Linked DNA regions of Homo sapiens: all the other regions are linked to region 4. The links are contacts of gene promoters, found by promoter capture Hi-C in blood cells and fetal thymus (Javierre and others, 2016). All regions are on one chromosome and are shown on one strand. Each heading gives the region's core, a stretch centred on a gene start or on the middle of the fragment in contact. The rest is flanking DNA. Distances are from core to core; before and after follow the strand shown. Region 1 has its middle 25 kb from the start of OR4N5. Region 2 has its middle 3.2 kb from the start of OR4N5. Region 3 has its middle 3.2 kb from the start of OR4M1. Region 4 holds the start of OR4K5 (olfactory receptor family 4 subfamily K member 5). Region 5 has its middle 16 kb from the start of OR4K17.

Region 1 (2,700 bases), core at 13-2,512, 240 kb before region 4:
TGCCCATGCCACATTGGCTGCCAAGGAAGTCCAGAGCCCACTCACCCACCCAATACGCTGCTACTGCAACTGGCATTCAAGAAAGCCGTCCAGAGGCTCAAGAATCAGCCTGCCTGCAACTGCCAAGCAGACATGAGGAAACACTGTTCTAGATTACAAGAATAGACCCACTTAGCCCAACACCTTTACCATTGAAATCTGAAGATAGGGCCATCTGGCATTCCCCTCCCCAGCACACCTTCACCACAGCCCCGCAAATCACTGCACCATATTAAGCCAAGGAAAGCACACATACCACTAATGCTATTTATAGCCAAAGAAATTATACAGAATATTCACTACTGTATGTACCAAGAAGCTAAACCAAATGCCCCTAACCAAGCAACATCATAGTCATGTCTTTGAGTAAAAGGACCCTCCCCAGTGAAAGTAAATTTGAAAATAAGAAGTGACTATCACTCCAGATGTGCAAAAATCAATGTAAAGATGCAGGAAACTTTAAAAAGCAAGGTTATATGACACGCTCAAAGGAACACAATAATTCTCCAGCAATAGATTCTAGCCAAAGAGAAATTCTAGAAATACCATATCAAGAATTCAAAATATTGATTTTAAATAAACTCAGTGAGATGTAAGATAAATCTGAAAACCAATACAAAGAAATCAGAAAATGTATTTAGGAAATGAATGAGAAATTTAAAAAGATAAATATTAAAAAAGGATATTTTAGCACTAAAAACTTCATTGAAGGACATACAAAATACACTTGAAACCTTCAACAATAGGCTAGACTAAGCAGAATAAATAATTTTAGAACACAAAGATAGGTCTCTTGAAATAATCTAGTTAGATAAAAAATGAAGAAAAAGAATAAACAAAGCCTTTGAGACATTTGGGACTACATAAAGTAATCTAATGTACAAATTACTGGTATTCTTTAGGAGGAAGAAAGATATGAAGCCTTAGAAAATACAGTTTATAAAATAATAGATGAAAACTTCCTAAGTCTAGCAAGAGATTTAGACATCCAGATCCCAGAGTACCAACAAACCCCAGTGAATACATCACACACACACACACACACACACACACACACACACACAATCTGTCACCATGCGATATAATCATTAGACCGTCTAAACTCAAAATGAAAGAAAGAATTATAAAATCAGCAATAGAAAAGCTTCTTGTCACTTAAAAAGGAAGCCACTTTAGACCAACAACAATTTTTTCAGCAGAAACCTTACAGGTCAGAAGAGAATGAGATGGCATAACTAAAGTGCTGAAAGGAAAAAAAAACATGCTAGCCAAGAATTCTATATACAACAAGATCAAGCTTCATAAATGAAGGAGAAATAAATTATTTCCCAGTCAGGCAAATGGTGAAGGAATCTGTCACTAGACTGGACCTACAGGAAATTGTTGAAGAAGTTCTAAACTTGGAAACAAAAGCACAATACTTTTCATCATGAGAACACAGAGTATAAAACCCTCAGGTCTTATAGAAAAATCACACAATGGAGAAAGAAAGAGAAAAGAATCAAGTTGGCAACACTACAGACTACAGGTCATTATATAGTGAAAAAGGGATCAATTCAATAAGAAGATATAACAGTCCTAAATATATATGTACCCGACATTGGAGAACCCAGATTTATAAAACAAATATTACTAGACCCAAAGGAAGACATAGACAGTAATACACTAATAGTGGGGGACTTCAATGCCCTGCTCATAGCACTAGACAGATAATTGAGACAGAAAATCAACAAGGAAGTATTGGACTTAAATTGGACATTAGACCAAATAAGCTTAACTACTTTTACAGAACATTCTATCCAACAACTGCAAAATATACATCTCATCAGCACATGGAACATTCTCCAAGATAGACCATGTGTTGGGTCACAAAACAAGTCTCAACAAATTTTAAAATATTAAATAATATCAAAGTATGTTCTTAATATTTTATTCAATCACGGTTGAATGAAACTAGAAGTCAATACTAAGAGAAACTTTGGAAACTAAACAAATACATGAAAGATTAGGCAACATGCTCCTGAATTGGGTCAATGAAAAAAATTAAGACAGAGATGTTTTTAAAATTATAAAACCAATAAAAATGGAAACACAATATACCAAAGCCTGTTGGATACAGCAAAAGCAGTGGTAAGAGGGACTTATAGCATTAAATGCTTATATAAAAGTGTAGTAAAATTACAAATTAATAACCTGTCATACCTCAAGGAATTGGAAAAACAAGAACAAAGCAAGTGCAACATTAGTAGAAGGAAAGAAATTACAAAGATCAGAGCAGTGCTAAATAAAATGCAGTCCAAAAAATAGTACAGAGGATCAACAAAACAAAAAAAAGAAAACAGGGGCAGATGTGCTCAAGGCTTTGGGAGCCCACCTGTTGCATCACTGTGACCTGGATGTGAGACATGAAGTCAAAGGAGATATATTTTGGAACTTTAAGGTTTAATGACTGCCCTATTGGATTTTGGACTTGTATGGGGCCTCTAGCCCCTTTGTTTTGGCCAATTTCTCCCATTTCTCCCATTTGGAATGGCTGTATTTATTCAATGCCTGTATCCCCATTGTATCTAGGAAGTAACTTGCTTTTGATTTTACAGGCTCACAGGCAGAAGGGACTTGTCTTGTCTGAAATGAGACTTTGGGCTTAGACTTTTGGGTTAA
Region 2 (2,700 bases), core at 105-2,604, 210 kb before region 4:
TTGAATGACTAGGGTAGGGCATTTCAGGCAATGTGAAGAACGAGAATGGAGACTGTGGAAGAGGATTGAGCTGGTACAGTAAGGCACAGAAAGGAGACCATCATGATGAGGAAATGGTGAGCATAAGAAGGAAAAGTATAAGGCAACATTAGAGAGGTAGGCAGATGTTATCCAGCTCATGGCATTTGGAGGTTATTCTCAGTGTGTAATTATAATGTCAACAATTGTAATCTTCAGGTCGTTCTGGCTATTGTGTGGAGAATGGGTTTGAGGGAGGCAAGTATAGGAGCAAGGAGAACAGTTTGAAGATGTTGCAGTACCAAGTACAAAAGATGATGTTGGTAACTTTGCCTGGTGGAGAGTGGGAGGAGGAGACCGTAGTAAGAAGAATTCAGAGAACTTGACATGTATTTTGATGGTGGAGACATTTAGACTTGCTGATAGACACGATGTCTTAAAAACTCCTAAGATTTTAGATGAAATAGCTATGTATGGAAGTGTAATTTATTAACATTATGAAGACCCAAACAAGATAAGGTGGTGATTGGAAAAAAACTATGCTTTTTTAAAGGTACATTTAATTTTCACATAGGAAATATATTTGCATGGTTAAGCATTTTTAAAAAGTAGAAATGAGGCCACTTTTTTTGCACCTACCACAATTAGTTTATTCTCAATTTATTCAAAGAGATTCTTTAGAAAAAAAATACATGCTGAGCTATTCTATTAAAAATATTTGTTTATAATCCTTTAATTTGAGTGGCAGTTTTCTCAGACATAAAGCCACTGAGTTATATTTTCTTGCCTGAAAAATTTGTAGGTTTTGACCCAGTGCCACTTCCATTTTAAAAATGCTAGTTAATTATTTTCTGGAGAAATGTATGAGTGACAGTCCTATGATGTTTTGTCATCTACAAAATTGAAAATGTATTTCCTTACTTTACAAAAAGTTTTGGGTGTTTTTCATTTGGAAAGCTTACTACATAGGTAAGCAATTAGGGACTGATTATTAAAGGTCCTTGGTCTCAGGGATTTGACATGCCAGTGGAGTTGACATTCCAGCAACTAGATTGCTACTCAGTGAGAACCTTATAGGTAATACCTCTCTAAATCCTGGTAATGAAAACCTCTTTCTCTGGGATGGTTTTCATTTTCTTCTTTGTATGTTTCATGTTATTAATTTTAGTAAAATGAGATTTTAGTTTGTACTTTAAGAAATAGTATCACTAGTTTATTTTGAAAAATAAATTGTATCAATGTTTACAAAACCTAATAGCAAACAGTCATATTTTGCTCAGGATAGCAAACAAGGCACAAATAGGTGCCAAATAGATTCCAGTGTTTCAGACAAGTCAGTTCTTGATAGTGTAACATGATGTTTGATTAAAAATTTTATTTTATTTAATGGTAAATTACTGATATTGAACACAGATGGTAATCAGTAATTTAAAAAAAAGTAGAGGAGAAACCCACCCAAATTTAAAATCACATTGATAAAACTTAGAGAATTGGGGGAATCTTTGTTTTACAGGCAGGTTGACTGGCTAATTTGGAGGCAGCAATACAAATTAAAGGACTAGCTATGGGCTGTTCTCTAACATCTATACTTATTTGCATATTCTTGGGATGCAGGGTGGGTTCAACATAGGCAAATCAATAACTGTGATTCACCATATAAACAGAATTAAAAACAAAAATGGTATAATCATCTTAATGACACAGAAAAAGCTTTTGATACAGTTCATCATTGGTTCATGAGAAAAACACTCAAGAAACTAGGCATTTATAGAAGGAACATACCTCAAAATAATAAGATCCATTTATGTCATACCCACTGCCAACATCTTACTGAATGGGAAAAAGCTGGAAGCATTCCCCTTGAGAAATGGAACAAGACAAGGATGTCTATTCTCATCATTCCTATTCAACATAGTGCTGGGAAACTGAGCCAGAGCCATCAGGCAAGAGAAAGAAATAAATTACATCCAAATAAAAAAATAAAATATCAAATTACCTTTGTTTGGTGATTATATAACACTAAACATAGAAAACTCTAACTCCACTAAAAGGCTCCAAGGACTGATAAATGATAAATATACCAGAATCAGCAGCATTTCTATACAGCACTAACATTCAGGTTGAGAGACAAATCAAGAATGCAATCTCATTTACAATAGCTCTGCACACACACACACACACACACACACACACACACACACACAACCCAACAACATGTAAAAGCATATCTAACCAAGGAGGTGAAATATCCCTACAAGGAACTACAAAACACTATTGAAAGAAATCATAGCCTACAGAAACAACTGGGAAAACATTCCATGCTCATTGTTTGGAAGAATCAATATTGTTAAAATGGTCATACTGCTCAAAGTAATGTACAGATTCAATGCTGTTACTATCAAATTACCAATGCCATTCTACACAAAATTAGAAAAAAATCCTAAAATTGATATGGAACAAAAAAGATCCTGAATAGCTAAAGCAATTCTAAGCAAAAAGAACAAAGCTGGAGGCATCACATTACCTGACTACTATACTACAAGGCTAAAGTAGCCAAAAGGCATGATACTATGCAAAAACAGACACATAGACCAATGAAATAGGATAGAGAACTCAGAAGTAAAGCCTCACACATACAACCATCTGATTTTTGACAAAGTTGACAAAAGCAAGCAGTGGGAA
Region 3 (2,700 bases), core at 167-2,666, 150 kb after region 4:
ATCTGGATAAGGGGGATGCAGCAGTGCCCAAAAACTCAGAGATGCCAGCAACTGTGGAGCCCAAAGAGGTGTTACAGCTTTTCCTCTGGGAGTCAAGGTCTGAGCCCCCAGGAAGTGTTACAGCTCTTGTTCGTTCTCACTGCCGACAGCTTCAGCAAATGGGGGTATGTCACAGCTCATTCAGTCCTGCTGCCCACAGCTCAGCAACTGGGGACGTGTGGCACCCAGCATTTTTTTTTTCACTCCTGTAGCTTGGTGAACAGGAGCGTGTCTTACAACTCTTTTCGCACCCACTGTTCAGTGGATTCCGGATTCTTGTCCCACAACCAACAGGAATGAAGCATATAGACACCGCAGAGTGAGCAAGGCTGATGAGATTTTTACTGAGCGGCAGAAAAACTCATGACAACAAGAGAGTAGCCAAAGTGGGTAGCCCTCTGTGTAAGAGTGGGACTGAAAGCAGAGAGCCATCTGTGAGGCTGAGTCTGGGGTTTTTATGGGCTCAGAATGGAGGAATGTGTGCTGACTGGTTCATGGGCAGGCCTGGAAAAAGCACCATTTAATTGACTAAAAGGCACTGAGGAAGTTCTCAGTTGGGTCGTGGACTGCACCTGGAACTGGTGGCTTGGTTTTCAGGCTTCATGTTGTCTTTGGCTTGAAGGTTGGGATTCACCAGGGACTTATACCTGTCTGCCTAGGAATCTGTCTGTCTCCTGCCATTATCAGCTGCACATACCACACTGCTTTCACTACCAAGGAACCCACAATGATCACTGCGCAAACTATAGTACTTAACTCCACAGAGGACTCCAGCAGGTTTAGTCACTGACAAAATCAACACCCAAAGATCACAAAGAAGCAGGAAAACATGACACCACCAAAGGAACAAAATTAATTTCTAGTAACCAACCCCAAAGAATTGGAGATCTATAAATTGCCTGGAAAAAATCAAAATAATTACATAAGGAATCTTGGGGAACTACAAGAGAACACAAATAAATAGTTTAATGAAATCAGGAAGACAATCCAAGAACAAAATGAGAAGCTCAATAAAGAGAGAAAATATTTTAAAAAGAACCAAACAGAAATGTTGGAGCTGAAAAATACAACAGCTAAACTAAAAAAAAATGTAATAGAGGCTTGAACATCAGACTAAATGAAGCAGAATAAAAAAATAAGTGAACTCAAAGACCGAGCATTTTAAATCATCCAGTAAGTGGAGATAAAAGAAAAAAAAGAATAAAACCTACAGAAGCCATGGAATACTATCAAGAGAGCTAACATTAGAATTATCGTAGGTTCAGAAGAAAAATAGAGAGAGCATTAGATAGAAAGCTTATTTAAGGAAATAATCATGGGAAACTTAGCAAATATCCGGAAAGAAATGAGCATCCACATGCACGAAGCCTAAAGTTCTCCAGTCAATTCAACCAAAAAAAGAATCCACAAACATACGTTAACATCAGCCTGGCAAAAATCAAAAACAGAGAAGCTTGTAAGCAGCAAGAGAAAAGAATCATGTCATATAAAAAAGGACCCAAATAAAGCTATCAGTGGATTTCTCAGCAGGAACCTTGAGGATCAGGAGAGAATGAAATAATATATTCAAAGTGATGGAAGAAAAATAAAACTGCCAACCAGCAATATTTTGCCAGCAAAGCTGTCCTTCAGAAATGAAGAAGATAAAGACTTTTTTAGAAAAACAAAAAAAGTTGAGTGAGTCTTCACTATTGCTTGCCTTACAAGAAATGCTAAAGGGGGATTTTTAAGATTAAATAAAAGGCAGCTAATTAGTAACATTAAAACATACAAAAATGTAAAACTAACTGGTAAAGTATATATATGGTTAAATTTAGAATATTCAAACACTATAATGGTGGTGGTGTGAATCACACCATCATTATAAAGTTATAAGATGAATGTATGCAAAATGACTATAGCTATAATAAATTCTTAAGACATACAAAAAATGTAAACTGTAACATCAAAAGCACAATGTAAGAGAAGGGAAGTAAAAGTACAGAGCTTCTTTAGCAATCAAAGTTAAGATGTTATCGTCTTTAAATGAATTGGTTAAACAATAAGAATATTTATGTAAGCCTCATGGCAACCACAAATTAAAAATCTATAGTAAATACACAAAAGATAAACAGAAAAGAATCAAAGCATACCACCAAATAAAATGATCAAATCACAAAGGAAAACAACAAAGGAGTAATAAAGGGATAAAGGATCTACAAAGCAACCAGAAAACAATTAATAAATTGACAATAATAAATCTTTACTTACCAACTATAAATAAGCAAATTTTGTTAATCAAAAGACAAAGAGTGGCTGAATTGATTTATAAAAATAAAATCCAACTTAATGCTGCCTACAAGAAACTCACTTCACCTTTAATAACACACACAGACTAAAAGTAAAGGGGTAAAAAACAAAAATATTCCATGAAAATGAAAATCAAAAAAGAGCAGTAGCAGTTACATGTGTATCAGACAAAATAGACTTTAAATACTGTCACAAGAGACAAAGAAGGTCATTAGATATTGATAAGAAAGTCAATTCATTGAGATAATAGAACAGTTATAAATATGAATACACCCAACATCAGAGCACCTAAATATATAAAGCAAATATTAACAAATCTAAAGCAAGAGATAGACTGCAATGCAATATTAATAGAGAACTTTAATATCCAAT
Region 4 (2,700 bases), core at 3-2,502:
TCTTGATATTTACATTTACCCCGTAACAAAAGCAGTAAATGCATACATATTATCCATCTAGTGCCCATATTTTATTTCTAGAACCAGTAATCTAAACAGAGATTTTTCCATGTTTTTATATTTAACTTTCACTTGATACCTAGAAAAAGACTTGTTAATATTCATTAAATGTTCTCTATATTATCTTCTTCACTACTTTCCCCACAATTGAGATACACCACAAAAATACATTAAAATATTAAACAGTGTATTGACCTGAGGAATTTGAAGGAGTTTTGTCTTAATGAAAGGAAGTTCTCACTACTAGTGACATTTCAGAAATTCTCCTTGGCCTCAGGTAATGGTTCACAATTTTCCTTACGGCAGCCTTCATATCCCTATTCCTTAGTGTATAAATAATGGGGTTTAGGACGGGGGTGAAAACAGTGTAAAATATGGCAAGAAATTTATCCAAAGGAGAGATGGTAAAGGGCCACACATAGATGAAGATGCAAGGTCCAAAGAATAATATTACTACTGCAATATGGGAAGCCAGCGTAGAAAATGCCTTTGCCATTGCAGCTGAAGACTTGAGCCAAACTGTAACAAGAATAATGATGTAGGAGCTGACCAAGAGAGAGAAAGTGCTTAGGGAAAGAATTCCACTATTGACCACAATTAGTATTTCAATGATGTAAGAGTCCAGGCAGGCAAGTTTGGTGACTCGAGGAAGATCACAAAAAAAGCTGTCTACTACATTAGGTCCACAAAAAGGCAGGTTCACAGTAAATGATAACTGGCTTAATGTGTGCACCAAGCTCACAGCCCAGGAGATCATTACCAAGACAGTGCATGTCCTTCGGCTCATGATGACCACATAGTATAAGGGTTTGCATATGGCTACATACCTGTCATAGGCCATCGAAACAAGTAGCACCATCTCCCCTCCAGTAAAAAGGTGAATAAAGAAAATTTGGGCTATGCAGCCACTGAAAGATATGGTCTCGTGTGCACTCAGAAAATCTGCAATCATTTTAGGGGTAGCAAAAGAAGCCTGACAAATGTCAACAAAGGAAAGGTTTCCCAAGAGAAAGTACATAGGGGAGTGCAGGCTGGTATCAGAAGTCACTGTGAGGATAATGAGAAGATTTCCCAGCACAATGACTGTATACAACACAGAGAAGAAACAAAAATAGAAAAGCTGGAGTTTTTGAGAACTACAGAGTCCCAACAGTACAAATTCAGACACCACTGAAGAATTGGACTTATCCATGGTTCCAAGCTGCAAACTTGTTCTGAAACAACTCTAAAGGAGGATAAATAGAAAGGAATCAGAATTTGAATTAAGAATACTTTTAAGGTGAGGGATTCTGAGATCTCAGATATAATGTGCATTTGCTGAATGCAAAAATTTTGAAGAGGCCATAATAGTATGTCTGGATAGGTGGATAATAGGAAAGAACTTATGTAAATGTCTAAATAATGCTTAATAATTTAATCAGTATAATTAGAACCCCTTGAGTTTTTGGATAGTCCTTGTCTTTTATACAGTAGGAAATGAGCTTACCCAGGAGCTGACTCATGACAACAAGACTAGAGGAGTGACCTAGAGTCCAGCTCCACAAGCCTCATAGGTTGACAAAAAGTGTTTACATTTGCTTGTCTTGTGGTCATCTTACATCATCAATTATACAACATTCTTAACTTTTGAAGAGATATTCATGGCTTGATTATTATTACATGATGTAAAGTCACACAGATTAACTTTTGGCCAATTATTTTATCTGAGCTTTAATTCCACACCTTAAAAAAGATGGGAGGTATAAAAATACCTACTTTACAGAAAACTTTAGAGTTTAAGCAGAATAACTCATGACATTCTACCATCAAAGTAATTGTATTGCAACATATGATCTTAATACATTAAACACCCTATATTAATAGAAATTTACCTTCGTGCTCCTGCAGGAGTCATTTACAATTAGGCAATTCCTGCTAAACAGATACTATTGAATGTATATTATACTGGCCTATAGTTCCAACTGAGTTTGTCAATTAGTTATCCAATAATTTCTTAAAACACATATTATGGCTTACCTGAATTATCTAAATCCTATTTTCTGTTGATTATCCAAGAGTGGAACCTAAATTTTTCATTTTCTTTGCCTATCAGAATTAGATTTCAGCCCACTTACATTCTCCCTGCTAGAGTTCTCCATGATCTTCTTAAAACATCTTTATAATTAATGCTGGAAAATGAAGTTTAAAAAAAATTTCTGGATAGAGAAGTAAAAATGATTATAAACCTCTCATGCTCTTGAAAATATCTAAAAATTTGCATCGTATGTTTTTCACCCTGTAAAGACATACCCCTACTGTATAAATCTAGTTCAGTTGAACTGGAAAAACTTTAAAGAAGTGCTGTTTTAGGAAACCATATTAGTTCTGACAATTAACTGTTGACAACAGTCATAGTAAGAGGCCTGAGAGAGTAATGATCTAATTCTAGTCCCATGTGAGAACATGAACATCTTTTTCTGCTAATTTATTTCATACAAGAAGCCAGAGTCTTTCCTTTGTCTCTAGGCTACAGACCTAGTCTCTCATTTAGATGAATGCAGTTGCAATCCACACCGGGAAGCCCCACAGTAAACAATCATATTGTGTACTCTATTGGAAGAAGGTTCAGAGAAGCATTCCACTGGGCCACATTTTGGATAT
Region 5 (2,700 bases), core at 102-2,601, 170 kb before region 4:
CCAAGATAAAATAATTGAATATGGAGGGTTGCTTAGGTTCTTTATTATCTCTAATAATCCACTTTGGTGGTAAAAGAGAATCTGATACAAATGTGTCAAAATGTTTAAAAATTCAAAAAATTATGTGTTATGTCAGTATCTACATTTAACCTTATAATTTAAATAGTTGATAAGAAATAGATATAAATATGTCCAGTGATTCCAAGGGACCCAGTACCAATGTGTCTCAATGATTTTTTAAAAAACATTTAATTTAAAATATACCATACACATATGGCTATGAATACATCTTTAAGGCACCTTTTAGCTCTAGTTAACATAGCATACATATTACTTAGGAGACAGTGAGGAAATACCGGGTAGAATCCTCTAAGGGGTCAGTAGATGTTTGGGTAAAAGCAGAGCATTTTGAATTTGATGCCAAACAGGTCATAGAATGTGTATTTATTCTAATGTCCATGGACCGTAGATCTAACTTTATAATTTAGTACACTTTAAAGCTTTCTTTATGCAACTTAATCAGATTGAAAACTTTGTTTTGTTGTGAAGGGAATGCCTGGAAAATATATAGGCTTCTTAATTTATTCTTTACTCATGTGAATTGGCAGAATAATAATGTTCTTACTTGTTTCTGGAGAGATATATGAGAGAAAATATGAACAAAAACATGAAAGATTAAAATGTTCTATGTGTAATTTTTTGTCAGGTGAAATTTCTCTTTAGAGTGAAGAAGTGTATGCTTCATGTCAGTGGATTACAGTAACTATATGCATCTATATACTCATAAAAACTAGCCTGTCTGCCTTGTTAAAAAATAATAATCCTTTCACATATTAGGGGCACAAAAATGTAAGTGTGTGTGTTCATGCTTGTGGGTTTATAAGAGTTCACACAACTTTGTTTACATTTGGTCATTTAGAGAATTTGGCTGAAAGATTACTAGTTAAAAGTAGACAAATTTATATTTGATTTCTCTTATTTAAGGAAAGTCTTAGATACATGGAGTCTCTAAATATAGTTAAGAAGCCAGTTTTTCTAGTTAACTTTTTATTATATTTTGAAAGTAATTTATTAACCCAAATTTGAATTGAAAGTTAATGAAAATAACTATGCTTTTTTTTTCAAAAATATTTTAAGGTCGGGGTACAAGTGCAGGTTTGTTTCATAGGTGAACTTATGTCATGGGGGTTTGTTGTACAGATTATTCCATCACTCAGGTATTAAGCCTAGTACTCATTAGTTTTGTTTCCTGATTTTCTCCCTCCTCCCACCCTCCACCCTCCAAAAGGCCCAGTGTGTGTTGTTCCCCTCTATGTGTCCATGTGTTCTCTTTTGCTTTTAAGTGAGAACATGCAGTGTTTGGTTTTCTGTTCCTGTGTTAGTTTGCTAAGGATAATGGCCTCCATCTCCATCCATGTCCTTACAAAGGACATGATCTCATTGCTTTTTTATGGCTCTATAGTATCCTATGGTGTATATATACCACATTTTTTAAATCCCAGTCTCTCATTGATGGGAAATTAGGTTGACTCCATGTCTTTGTTATTGTCAATAGTGCTGCAATGAACATATGCATGCATGTATCTTTATAATAGAATGGCTTATATTCCTTTGGGTATATACCCAGTAATGGAGTTCCCAGGCTGATAATTATATTTTCAACAAAACCACACATGCCATAGAAATATAATAATGAAAAATTATATTTGATAATTTCAATATATGCAATATTATTTATAGAAATCAACAAATAAAATTAATATCAACATATTCTGAAACGTAATTTATATGGGTTCTGAACTAATATCCTGTCCTCATGATTGCTGATTAGAGAAGGTTTGTCTGGAGATGATGTGTTGGGTCCTCAGTTGATGTATAGATGCTTTCATCTCAGACTGTAAGTAATGGGGTTCAGTAAGGGTGTAACTGAATAAAACACAGAAAGAAATGTATCCACTGAAAAGCTCCTAAATGGCCAAGTGTAAATGTAGACACATGGCTCATAAAAATAGAGTGACTGCAGTGATATGAGCAGACAGTGTGGACAGAGCCTTGGAGAGTGCATCAGAGGATCGATGCTGCACAGTTACCAGAATAATAGTGTAGAAAATGAGCAAGACTATGAAGCAGATGAAAGACAACTGTCCACTTTTAGCAATTACCAGCAACTCCAGATCATAAGTCTCAGTGCAGGCAAGCTTCAGAACTAGAGGAAGGTCTCAAAATAAATTGTCCACCACACTGGGGCCACAGAAGGGCAAGGTGATAATAAAAACAATCTGGCTTATAGTATGCACAAAACCAACAGCCCGTGATAGCAGCACAGAGCCCATGAGTGGCCATGAGTACCCTGCAGTTCGTGATGGTTCTGCAGTGAAGAGGTCTGCATATTGCAATGTGCTGATCAACAGCCATAAATATGAGAAGAGTCATCTCACTGCCTCCTAAGAAGTGGAGATCTGAGCCATACAGCCCCATGAGGAAGTGGTTTTATTCTCCCTGAGAACGTCTGGACCATCTTAGAGATTGTGACTGTGGAAATAAACATACTGAGAAAGGAGAGATTTCCAAGGAGGAAGTACATAGGTGTTGAGCAAAGGGGAGGATTGGAGGTTACAGCGATTGCAGTGAGGTTTCCTGCCATGATTGCTGCATAGGCCAACAAAAATATTTAAGAAACAAAATTTCAAGTTCCCAAGT

What was found. Contacts are between HindIII fragments. The CHiCAGO score rates a contact against its expected background, and 5 or more counts as called.
Region 1: a contact is called between a fragment that was not itself captured here and the fragment with the promoter of OR4K5 in region 4, in 8 of 17 cell types (erythroblasts, total CD8 T cells, total CD4 T cells and 5 more). The highest score is 10.2, in erythroblasts.
Region 2: a fragment that was not itself captured here is called in contact with the fragment with the promoter of OR4K5 in region 4 in 5 of 17 cell types (erythroblasts, M2 macrophages, total CD4 T cells and 2 more); the score reaches 6.8 in erythroblasts.
Region 3: a fragment that was not itself captured here is called in contact with the fragment with the promoter of OR4K5 in region 4 in 8 of 17 cell types (activated CD4 T cells, M1 macrophages, naive B cells and 5 more); the score reaches 7.8 in activated CD4 T cells.
Region 5: a contact is called between a fragment that was not itself captured here and the fragment with the promoter of OR4K5 in region 4, in 4 of 17 cell types (naive CD4 T cells, total CD4 T cells, naive CD8 T cells and 1 more). The highest score is 6.3, in naive CD4 T cells.

What each region holds. Positions count from the first base shown.
Region 1 is chr14:20,162,738-20,165,437 of GRCh38, reverse strand. No RefSeq gene overlaps it. Among named protein-coding and RNA genes, the nearest start is that of OR4N5, 25 kb to the right of the region's middle. The HindIII fragment of the contact is 153 bases long and covers 1,186-1,338 here.
Region 2 is chr14:20,134,244-20,136,943 of GRCh38, reverse strand. No RefSeq gene overlaps it. Among named protein-coding and RNA genes, the nearest start is that of OR4N5, 3.2 kb to the left of the region's middle. The HindIII fragment of the contact is 753 bases long and covers 978-1,730 here.
Region 3 is chr14:19,768,916-19,771,615 of GRCh38, reverse strand. No RefSeq gene overlaps it. Among named protein-coding and RNA genes, the nearest start is that of OR4M1, 3.2 kb to the left of the region's middle. The HindIII fragment of the contact is 157 bases long and covers 1,338-1,494 here.
Region 4 is chr14:19,919,159-19,921,858 of GRCh38, reverse strand. OR4K5 (olfactory receptor family 4 subfamily K member 5) reads right to left here and starts at 1,252. Exons shown (of 1, transcript NM_001005483.1): 1 at 281-1,252. The coding sequence starts at 1,252. The coding sequence ends at 281. The region is part of intron 2 of LOC124903278 (a long non-coding RNA gene); the gene reads left to right. It also overlaps a transcript of OR4K1 not described here. The HindIII fragment of the contact is 8,373 bases long and covers 1-2,700 here.
Region 5 is chr14:20,093,402-20,096,101 of GRCh38, reverse strand. It overlaps the pseudogene OR4T1P. Among named protein-coding and RNA genes, the nearest start is that of OR4K17, 16 kb to the left of the region's middle. The HindIII fragment of the contact is 1,698 bases long and covers 503-2,200 here.